4 separate regions of the Homo sapiens genome follow, and regions 1, 2 and 4 are each linked to region 3. Evidence: promoter capture Hi-C in 16 types of primary human blood cells and fetal thymus (Javierre and others, 2016). All regions are on one chromosome and are shown on one strand. Each heading gives the region's core, a stretch centred on a gene start or on the middle of the fragment in contact. The rest is flanking DNA. Distances are from core to core; before and after follow the strand shown.

Evidence for each region. Contacts are between HindIII fragments. The CHiCAGO score rates a contact against its expected background, and 5 or more counts as called.
Region 1: a fragment that was not itself captured here is called in contact with the fragment with the promoter of UBE2G2 in region 3 in 1 of 17 cell types (megakaryocytes); the score reaches 5.8 in megakaryocytes.
Region 2: a contact is called between a fragment that was not itself captured here and the fragment with the promoter of UBE2G2 in region 3, in 4 of 17 cell types (total CD8 T cells, neutrophils, naive CD8 T cells and 1 more). The highest score is 7.5, in total CD8 T cells.
Region 4: a contact is called between a fragment that was not itself captured here and the fragment with the promoter of UBE2G2 in region 3, in 1 of 17 cell types (naive CD8 T cells). The highest score is 5.0, in naive CD8 T cells.

The regions. Positions count from the first base shown.
Region 1 is chr21:45,133,251-45,135,950 of GRCh38, reverse strand. The region is part of intron 2 of ADARB1 (adenosine deaminase RNA specific B1); the gene reads right to left. Among named protein-coding and RNA genes, the nearest start is that of ADARB1, 60 kb to the right of the region's middle. RefSeq lists enhancers at 1,437-1,937, 1,938-2,438. The HindIII fragment of the contact is 4,546 bases long and covers 1-2,700 here.
Region 2 is chr21:44,335,478-44,338,177 of GRCh38, reverse strand. It overlaps CFAP410 (cilia and flagella associated protein 410), which reads left to right. Exons shown (of 7, transcript NM_004928.3): 2 at 511-529; 3 at 2,374-2,420. Among named protein-coding and RNA genes, the nearest start is that of CFAP410, 2.6 kb to the left of the region's middle. The HindIII fragment of the contact is 2,953 bases long and covers 1-2,700 here.
Region 3 is chr21:44,800,407-44,803,106 of GRCh38, reverse strand. UBE2G2 (ubiquitin conjugating enzyme E2 G2) reads left to right here and starts at 1,287. Exons shown (of 6, transcript NM_003343.6): 1 at 1,287-1,401. The coding sequence starts at 1,359. It overlaps LINC01424 (long intergenic non-protein coding RNA 1424), which reads right to left and starts at 866. Exons shown (of 2, transcript NR_109928.1): 1 at 471-866. RefSeq lists silencers at 669-718, 1,219-1,438, 1,499-1,558 and an enhancer at 1,106-2,061. The HindIII fragment of the contact is 6,659 bases long and covers 1-2,700 here.
Region 4 is chr21:44,487,483-44,490,182 of GRCh38, reverse strand. The region is part of intron 1 of LINC02575 (long intergenic non-protein coding RNA 2575); the gene reads right to left. Among named protein-coding and RNA genes, the nearest start is that of LINC02575, 3.3 kb to the right of the region's middle. The HindIII fragment of the contact is 1,618 bases long and covers 450-2,067 here.

The DNA.
Region 1 (2,700 bases), core at 98-2,597, 330 kb before region 3:
TTTGGAAAGGGGCTGTGCATGGTCAGATTTTCAGGACAGCACTCAGCTTCACCCACCCCCATCACAGAGGACCCACCGGGGAGGGTGAGGGGCAGCACAGTCTCCACTGGGCCCACCTGCAGTCCAGGACCACAGGACCCACAGAGGGCCCTCTTGACTGTGGCCACACCTTTCTGCTGACATTCTACACTTCATATGTTTTTTTTCCAATTTTTCTAATACATTTCGAAATGTGGATGGCAGACTTGTCAGTTCCAGAAAGCCTTTCTCGCACTCTGCCTTCATCTTCTGAGGCCTCACTTTGCTTTTCGACCTAAATTAGGTCCTGTCTCTTCTAGTCTTTCTGCTTCATTAGGGGCTACTCTGTCTATCTACCGCTCACGGTTTTGAGGTCACCAACTCAGGACCCCGTATCTGTATGCACTGACAGGCAGGCAGCACACAGTGGTCCTGCTGAAAGCAGCAGTTTGGTCTTTTCCTCTTAAATCACTGAGTCCTCTGAGATTCCCTGGAAGGAGATATTCTCCACCTGTTTATGGTTTTAACTCCCCTCAGTATGCAGCCACACTAAGGGGTGCCAGGAGGATGCAGACAGCTGACAGTTGTTGTCATTCTGGCAGGCCGGTCAGCACACGGAGTGTGGAGGCCTCTGCCAAGGAACAGGGCGGAGGGCTCTCTCTGCCCTGTGGGTTTGAATGCAGCCAAAGCATCTTGGGATCTGGAAATCCTACCCAGCACACAGTCCTCCATGAGAACTTCCAATTCCAGAATTAGTAGAACTGGCAATCCAGACAAGGCCCCATCAGCAAGCAGGCCCCTTAGAGCAGGTCTGCCCATTTCTATAAACCTTTGGCTTTGCAGACCACTTATGGTCTCTGTTGCAGATTCTTCCTTTTCTGTTTGTTTTATAACTCCTTAAAAATGTAAAAACCATCCTTAGCTTTCAGGTCCCAGAATCTGCTCACAGGCTACAGCCTGCCAGTCCCTGCCCCAGGAGACCCACCTGGGCATCTGCAGAGGTGGCTCTGCCCAGGCAGCAGGGGACTCACCCAGCTGTCAACGGCAGCCAGGGGTGTGGTGCTGGGTGCCCCTGACCACAAATGCCATCACCCACTGACCTGGCTGGCAAGGCGTCTTCATCCTCGGGATCTTCATCACTCATGGGCCTGGCCTCTAGGGGGTCCTCAATGCTCGCTGGATGAATGAGGGTGTGCTCATTGGCCATTTCAATTTCATCTTGTGTAAAAAAAAAAAAAAAAAATCTGTGCAAGTCTTTTGCCCCAAATTCTACTGTACTGCCTTGTCCATAGGGATCTGTAGGATTCTTCATGTACTATGGACCCTGAACACTAAGCCACGCCTCTGTCAGGCATATGCCTCTGCTGGGCGCACACACCTCTGCCAGGTGCACACACCCATGTCAGACACACACACACGTCAGGCACACACACCCCGAGTGTACGTACCCCTGCCGGGCGCTCACACACCCATGTCAGACACACTCCTGTCAGGCGCACACACCCGTCGGGCGCACACACCACTGTCGGGCACACACACCCATCGGGCGCACACACCACTGTCGGGCACACACCCCCGTCGGGCGCACACACCACTGTCGGGCACACACCCGGCGGGCGCACACACCACTGTCGGGCACACACCCCCGTCGGGTGCACACACCACTGTCGGGCACACACCACTGTCGGGCACACACCCGGCGGGCGCACACACCACTGTCGGGCACACACACCCATCGGGCGCACACACCACTGTTGGGCACACACCCAGCGGGCGCACACACCACTGTCGGGCACACACCCCCGTCGGGCGCACACACCACTGTCGGGCACACACCACTGTCGGGCACACACCCGGCGGGCGCACACACCACTGTCGGGCACACACACCCATCGGGCGCACACACCACTGTCGGGCACACACACCCGTCGGGCGCACACACCAGTCGGGCACACACCCCCGTCGGGCGCACACACCACTGTCGGGCACACACCCCCGTCGGGCGCACACACCACTGTCGGGCACACACCCCCGTCGGGCGCACACACCACTGTCGGGCACACACCCCCGTCGGGCGCACACCCGGCGGGCGCACACACCACTGTCGGGCACACACACCCATCGGGCGCACACACCACTGTCGGGCACACACACCCATCGGGCGCACACACCGTCGGGCACACACCCGGTGGGCGCACACACCACTGTCGAGCATACACCCATCGGTCGCACACACCGTCGGGCACACACCTCTTTCAGGTACACACCTGTCAGGTACAGGTAAGACAAATTCTTTTCTCAGTCAGTGCAGTGTTAGCATCCTGCCCCTGGGGTACACACCTTGTACACTCCCCTGCCTTGCAGGCGGGAGGAACTGTGAACATGATGGGATATAGTGTTACATAAGGCAAAGGTGAAGGGATTTTACAGATGCAATTAAGGCATCTCATCAGCTGACTGAGTTCATCAAAAGGGAGATTTTCCTGGGTGGGCCTGGCCTGATCAGGTAAACCCCTGAAGGATGAGAGAAGTCAGAGAGGAAAGGAAGAGGGGAGACCCTGCCTATACGCCTTGAGAGGCAAACTGCCATGCTGGGAAGAGGGCCACAGGGCAGGGGCTATGGGCAGTCTCCAGGAGCCAAGCGCCACAGGCCTATGGTCACAAGGAACTGAGCTCTGCCAA
Region 2 (2,700 bases), core at 201-2,700, 470 kb after region 3:
TTTTGGCTACAATTCCCGTGTCATTTGCTTTCAATAATGCATTTCTTTGTTTTGCATGGGGTGGTCAGTACTCCCACTAAGCTGGGAGAAACAACAACCCTGTTTCAGGCTTTTAAAGTTTGCTTCATAAGTTGCCTGTTCACCCTTTGAACTTGACCTCTTATAAAGACGCCCTTGTTTATGTCTGTCAGTGAGAGAAATGAACCTTCTGCTACTCAGGGACCATGAGGAAGAGTTCATCTTTTTGTGTCTTACAAATGGAGCAACCCTGCTGCTCCTTATCTAAAAAGTACCACCCCAACGTCAAACATACAGTTTAGTTGAAAATCAGCTAAAACAATTGTTTACACCTTTGCCAGTTATCTGGGCAACCTTCCTTTTTTGCCATGCCATTAAAATCCTAGAATCTTAAGGTTTGTAGGGAGTCATCGGTGATTTTTGGAATTTTTGTCTTCAGTGTTTTTTATTCAACTTTAACAAAATTAAAGTATGTATCTTTTCTCTCCCCAGGGGCAGCCGCCTCACAGATGTAAGTATTGCCTCACAGATGTAAGTATTGCACTGATCATCTCCAAATAGCCTCAACCCAAATGTTGTAGCTTCTTTCCCAAGAGAATTTTTAAGTTGACAAAACTGCACCTATCAATTCAGTCCCACACTTGGTACTTTGTTCACTTAGCGGTTTTCATTCTGCAGAACCACTAATGGAAAAACAATTCTCTAGTGCCAGGCTTATTTTGCAGTTCCCGTCAACATCCCTATAAATGAAACACCCTTTGTCACTTGGTCGCAGAGGAGGGGAGCAATAGTTTGGAACTTGCTCTCACCTGGAAAGGAATCCCAGGAGGGCTTGTTTTACTTTGTTACGGGGAAGTTGAAGGTCTACACCCCCTCTTCTTGGTCACATCTAGCCTTGTACCCCCTTGCCGCTGCCCCAAAGGCAGGCAGAGAATAAGCCCTGCTGGGAGAACTTGAGTGTGTGCGTCTGTGAAAGATTTTTTTCTTCTCTCCCTCATTGTCTTTCTCAGTCCAAAATGTCCCCAACTTACACAGGGATCGCATACCAATTGTTTCTTTCTTTTTTTTTTTTTTTTACACGGAGTCTCTCTCTGTTGCCCAGGCTGGAGTACAGTGGCACGATCTTGGCTCACTGCAACCTCTGCCTCCCGGGTTCAAGCAATTTTCCTGCCTCAGCCTTTGAGTAGCTGGGACTACAGGCACCCACCACCATGCCTGGCTAATTTTTGTACTTTTTAGTAGAGATGGAGTTTCACTGTGTCGGCCAGGCTGGTCTCAAACCCCCTGAGTTCAGGTGATCCACCTGCCTCAGCCTCGCAAAGTATTGGAATTACAGGTATGAGCCACCATGTCCAGCGCAATTATTTATCTCTTTATTTTCCTTTGTTTTTTTAATTTGAACTGTACCTTTTCTTAAAGACAAAAAAAAGCCTGGATACGTGGCATCTGGGTGTAATCTGTTTTGTGCTGTAACTGAAATACTGCATGTTTAGCAGTGAATATACAAACGTACCATGTCCATAGACACGAGTCACTTATACATGGGACGCATCTGACCAGGCTGTGAGCTGCTGGTGCCATGCCTGGCGTATGGTGGGCTCTCACATATGTGGGAGCTTTGCAGGTTGTGAGGCTTTGTGGACCACCCCGGGCACCTCACCCCTGAATTGACAGTACCAATGTGATCTGAGATCCAGTCTCAAGCCTGTCTTCCTTTTGGCCTAGACCTGTTATCAAGAAGGGATTTCCATCCTTTCCTTGCTTTCTATCCCTGCGTAGGGGACATTGGGGTCCCCTTACCTGATGTCCTTTGAGGGCATCTAAAGTAATGAATGCTCTGTCTCCACTGCTGGCAGCATCTGACAGCAACGATGCTGTCGTAAAATTTAATAAAGACAGAGTGCGTGCAAGGAGGAGCCTCACATTTCTCCTTCAGTCTGCGGGGCGTCTGGGCTGCAAGGTGGTGTCAGAGGAGAACCTGGCATACTCGTGGGCATTCATCCTGGGCACACTGGCTGAGCAGGGCCGCTCCCCTCAGGCCCTGGGCATTCACCCTGGGCACACTGGCTGAGCAGGGCCGCTCCCCTCAGGCCCTGGGCATTCACCCTGGGCACACTGGCTGAGCAGGGCCGCTCCCCTCAGGCCCTGGGCATTCACCCTGGGCACACTGGCTGAGCAGGGCCGCTCCCCTCAGGCCCTGGGCATTCACCCTGGGCACACTGGCTGAGTAAGGCCGTGCCCCTCAGGCCCCGGAAGTGGGTTGGCCGTGGCTTCGACAGTTCTCTGTGGCTGATGGCAGTGCGGCCGCGATGCCCTGCTGTGCCATGCTTGCTAGTCATGTTCTTTTCCTCCTAGATCTCCATTTGCCAGGAGATGCCCAGCCTGGAGGTGATCACGCTCAGGTACCTCGCTCCTGCTGTCATGCTCAGCCTGGGGCCTGGAAGCCGGGGCAGAGCCTCACGTCCCTCCAGTGGGACCCAGCACTGTGACATAACCTGGAAACCTCCAACACAGACTGAGGGCGGCTTCCAGAAGGGGAGGGGCCGGGACAGCGAGAGCTGGGCCTACCCTGTGGCCCCCATGTTCAGCCCTCCTTCCTCAGAGCCTCACCTGGGCCTCCTGATGGCTCCTGTCCCCTGCCTGCCCTGCTGTACGCCTGCCCACCCTTGGCCTGTGTGCTCC
Region 3 (2,700 bases), core at 38-2,537:
GGTGAAGGCCGGGTGGTGACGGCCTAGGCCACACTGAAGAGGCAACATTTGAGCAAAGACTGAAAGAGCAGGTGGGAAGAGTCGGGGACAAGAGCCGCCAGAAAGTGTTTCCGGGGAGGGAAGAGTCAGGGACTCTGAACCAGGCCAGGGCAGCTGGAGTGGAGTGAGAGGGAGGGAGGGTCTGGGAGTATGGCGGGGTGACCGGAGGCAGAGCAAAGCACTGCAGGACTTCAGCTTTACTGAGTGAAATGGGCGGAGCAGAGTGTGAATGTGATCAGACTTCTTTTCAAGGGATCATCTGCAATGCTGGAAAGGAAAAGACAAATGATAGATTATTGCAACAAACAGCCAGGCAAGAGATGCAAACTTTTTTTGCAAAGGTGTGTGTGTATATACATCCTTGCACCGGACAGCCACGAAGCACCTACTGTGCTGTGAAGTCAGTAAGGATGTGGGTTAAAATCGCTCACCTCACAGCGGGTCAATCGGGAAAGCACACCCACTCACTACAGCCATTATGGGAAAAAGGGCTCGCCCCTTACAGGATCCTCAACTGTGGAGAGGCCGGGAGCCCACGCGGGGCGCTGGGGAGTCTCTCAGCACCCCAGGGGTTCGGGCAGGGACCTGAGCCGCGCCCTCTCTCCCGGGGGTGCCCTGGGGTCGAGGCTGCTCGGCAGAGCCGGCGGTCAGTTCGAGCCGCGGGCCCGAACAGGGCTCTCCCCGCGGCTCTCTCCCTCGGAGTAGAAGGTGCTGGACCCGAACTCCAGCGGAGCCGCACAACACGTGGAGGAAAAGCGCCAGGACAGCTAACCTTCCCACCTTTTCAAACCTGAAACCCGGCCGGCTGGGGACGGTTGGAATGTTCAGTGCGTACCCGCACCTCAGGCCCCTTGTCTCCAGCCCCAGACCGCCCCGCGACCATCCTCCCCACCCCCCGACCTCTTATCTCGTCCCCGCCCTGTCTCCCCAACCTCCATCCTCCCCTCCACAACCCCCGTCCTCCCGCCCTTCGGCCACGCGCGGCTGGCACAGAACAGGCAGTTAGCGCACACACACTGGAACAGGCGCCACCGTTCAGGAAGTCTCTACAAGACCAGGACCCTGAGGCCTCTGGAAGTGCCGGGACCGAACCAACCCCGCAGAGCGACTAAGGCGAGGGCAGGAGCCAAGAGAATCGTAGCCGCGGTCGCGGGTTGAGCTCCCACCACCCGGACAGCGCGCCTCGGCGATCGCGCACGCGCCACGCCCCGGAAGAGTTCCTGGGCCCGCGACGGTGGCCCGGAAGCAGTCCCCGGTGTCGGGGCAGGAGGCACGCGCGCGGCTGAGGCGAGGTCGCTCGGCGCAGCTGTTGCGGGGCCATGGCGGGGACCGCGCTCAAGAGGCTGATGGCCGAGTACAAACGTGAGTCTGGGGACCCGGGCCGTCAGCAGCGTCCCGCGTTCCTGCTCCCGGGCCCGCGTCGTCCGGCGGGGCTGGGGCAGGGAGCCTGGCGGGGGAGCCGGGCCCGGGGCCTCCACCGTGAGCCCCCCTGTGGGTCCCGCGGAGTGCCGCGCCCTGCGCCCGCTGCCCACTCTCACGCGTGAAGTCGTGAAGAGAAGCCTTCCCAGCATCAGTAAAGGCAGCGCCGGCGCCGTGTTAGTTGAGAGCACACACAGTTGAGTCTTTGCGGGCTTGTTTTTTTCTCTTCTATTTTTTCTTTTCTTGGCAGCCTTGAGAACGTGCAGTGAGAGCTTGAGGAAGAAGGCCTGACTTGCTGCTGCGGAATTAGGAGGGAAAAGTGTATGCGTTAAAAGGGGAAAGGCTCGTTGGTGGAGCTTTGAAAGGTCAGATTTTGGCTTTCCCTCTAATGAAGGAAAAGGGTTTTTGAACAGTGCCACCTGTCACTCCTCCTAGGTAGTGTTGAGGAAACCTCTTGAGTGCTTTCCTACCCGGTAAATTAGATATTTCTAATGTCTGAGGAGAGCGAAGGGAGAAATGAGAACCTAGGAACACTCGGCATTCCATCGTTTTACACCGAATGCCCGCTTGGAAGAACTGCTGCGAGAAGTCTTGGAATACCATTGTGTTGAAAGCGCCAGGAGCCTGAGTCGCCGATGGAGACGAGATAGTAGCCGGCTAAGAGCAGGGCCTGAGTTCAGACCCGGCCTCTCTGCTTGTTAGCTCTTTGACCTTGTTCCTCTCTCTGTCTCTGCAGTTTCCTTGTCTTAAAAGGTTAAACTTGATACTGCAGGTGAAGTGCTTAGCAAAATACCTGATGTGTAACCCTTAATAAAGTTAGCTGCTGCTTTTGTAATTAGATTGAGGATAATTTTGGAAGAAAGTTAAGCTAAAAGAATGAATGTGAGAAAAAAAATAAGTGGTGAATATACATGTAGCTTGATTTCGTAAAACTATTGGTGACACCGCCCAGTAAGAGTTGATGTTTGGCTTAAGCAGACCAAAACGTTGCAAATACAGGCTCACTCACGTATGGTCATTCTTCCCTTGGTATCTGGAGGGGATTGGTTCCAGGCCCCGCTGCAGATACCAGAATCCTCGGATGCTCAAGTCCCTACTATAAGGTGGCGTGGTATTTGCATTTAATGTATGCATAGCCTCTCATAACTTTTAAATCATCTCAAGGTTACTTATAGTACCTAATGCAATGTAAGTGCTGCACAAATAGTTACACTGATTTTTTTTACTTGTATTTTTAAATCG
Region 4 (2,700 bases), core at 9-2,508, 310 kb after region 3:
ATGACCTGTCTTAGCTGCTTCCCGCTGACAGGGGGCGTTGTTTTTGAGAAAACGGCAGTCAAATTCCTCCCAGAGGTCTGTCTAAGGGTTCCTAGCAAAGGGGAGTCATTATCTGAGGCTCCAGTTGCCTGTCCACTTGGAGTTTGATGGTTCTAGGCATGAGAGAAAAAAAAAAACCCAGGTTTTATAAGGTTAAGTATGCATGGGTTAAACATGTGTGTTATAAAAAGAAAGAATGTACTCCCAAAGATCACAAAGATAAGAAGTGAAATATACTAACAGCAAAGTTGCACCCTGAGCTGTTTCACCCCTGGTGCAAGAAATTAAACCTTGTACAAGAGCAAATAAACTTTAGAATGAAGTAACTATTCTTGCCATATCTTTAGCAGTTAACAGGTGCACCCTGGGAATTCTGGGGTTTGTGGACGTACACGGTGGCCACTGAAGCTTTTGTCTCTTTCCTGTGTCTCCTCTCACTGTCCTGGGCCTCCGTCTCTATTATAAAAGACTGAGGTGGCCACTTTTAGGAGGTCCTCTAATGTACTATCTGGTCCAATGGCCCAGTTTTTGCAACTTCCTCCTGATGTCAGGAGCCGCCTGAGTAATAAAGTTATGCTTTGGGATTCACTGTCCCTCAACTGAACCAGGAGAGAGAGAGGTGAGCTTTACCAAGGCCTCTCTTAGCCTTTCCTAGAAGGCGATTGGATTTTCATCAAATTCCTGGTTGATCATGGACAACTTGTTCTTAGTCTTACGTAAGCCTTCTATTACGCACACCTGAAAGTGTCTCCTCCGCCCGGCTTCCATCTCATGATTGGGGTCCCATTTACGGTCATTCACTGGTACTGCTTCTCTTCCGGTTGGATAATATTCACCCCCTTTCCTGATGCTACATGTGATGCAAAGCTCATCCCCAAATCTCTCTGCAGCTTGTAGAGTGGCCTGTTTCTCAGTGTCTATCACAGTCTGATTCAAAAGTAACATAACGTCTCTCTCCAGGAGAGTTCAACTATTTGGTTGAAATTCTAGAAAGCCTCTATATACCTATGAGGATCATCTGAAAACTTGCCCAGATCCCCCCTTAATTTACTTTAAGTCCTGTAAGGAGAAGGGGACCTGGACCTTGCTGGCCCAAATTCACCAGGCATCTGTTGGAGGAGCAAGAGTGAGACTGGGGCTTGTTTAGAGTGAGAATTTGTAGGAGGGGCCAAGTGAGAGGCTGAAGCTGGATAGGGAGGTCGGGGTGGACCCAGAGGAGCAGGGCTTGAGGGAGCTGGCCTCTCTTTCCGGGGTGCCTCTAGGACTCGTATCTTTAATTCCCTGGGCTTACCCCTTGCAGCCTTCTCTGAGATGGCAAACAGGAGGGCTGGATGAATCCTACACTGTCGGCAAGGTCTGGATTTCCTTGCAAGGTATAGAAAGGCCCTGCACATACGGGGCCTCAGGCCATCTGTCCTCACATCTACAGAAAAGTCTCAACAGCCGAATGGTATGGAAATGAATGATTCCTTCCTAGGGCCAACCCAGTCCTTCATAATTTGGCCAAACCTTTGTGCAGAGGGCTCTGAGGTGTTTCTCCTGCAGATTCTGAGGGTCAAAGCAGTCCCGATGGTTCAGGGTACACTACAGAGGAGTATAAACTGGGGGTGTTGAAGAGAACTGGAGACAGTGAATAGAGAAGCCCCTCATTCTCTTCCTTCTTTCAGCGAAAACTCAGGGTGTGATGGAGAGAGAAAGCGAGCATGATCCTTTCAGTCTCCACTCCTTATCCCTGAGCCCTGGCGACCTTGGCAGGTGCCAGCCATGGGTACTAATGTGGTATGTACCCATGAAGCAGGGAAAACCTGGAGACTAGGAACGAACCGCCCTTGCCTATGCCTCCCTTTCTCCCTGCTGTCGGCAAACCTTCAGTTCCCTGGGCCTGTTTATGCCATGAAGCATGGCCTCCTTCCATAGGGTGGGGGGTTTAGTCAGCAGGAATTGGTGCTACCCATTTACATTGTGCCTGTTCCCTGGCTTTGGATCCCTCAGACCTGTTTTTTCTTTCTAAGACCTCAGCCTGAAGCTTGGAATCGAGTTTGGGACTGAAAAGATATTTTAGAGGCTGGTTCTATCTGTTGAGAGTGTCTCAAATGTGCCCTGCCAAATTTGCAGCTCTCCGCCAGCAGGGGTCGCTGGTCCTCTGCTAACTTCCCCATCAGAAACAGAGTTGGGAGGGGAGCCCTCTCACTTAGAAAAGGAAAAAAGATACAAAAATCAATTCAAGATGGATTAAAGACTTAAACGTTAGACCTAAAACCATAAAAACCCTAGAAGAAAACCTAGGCCCTACCATTCAGGACATAGGCATGGGCAAGGACTTCATGTCTAAAACACCAAAAGCAATGGCAACAAAAGCCAAAATTGACAAATGGGATCTAATTAAGCTAAAGAGCTTCTGCACAGCAAAAGAAACTACCATCAGAGGGAACAGGCAACCTACAAAATGGGAGAAAATTTTCACAACCTACTCATCTGACAAAGAGCTAATATCCAGAATCTACAATGAACTCAAACAAATGTACAAGAAAAAAACAACCCCATCAAAGAGTGGGCAAAGGACATGAACAGACACTTCTCAAAAGAAGATATTTATGCAGCCAAAAAAACACATGAAAAAATGCTCACCATCACCGACCATCAGAGAAATGCAAATCAAAA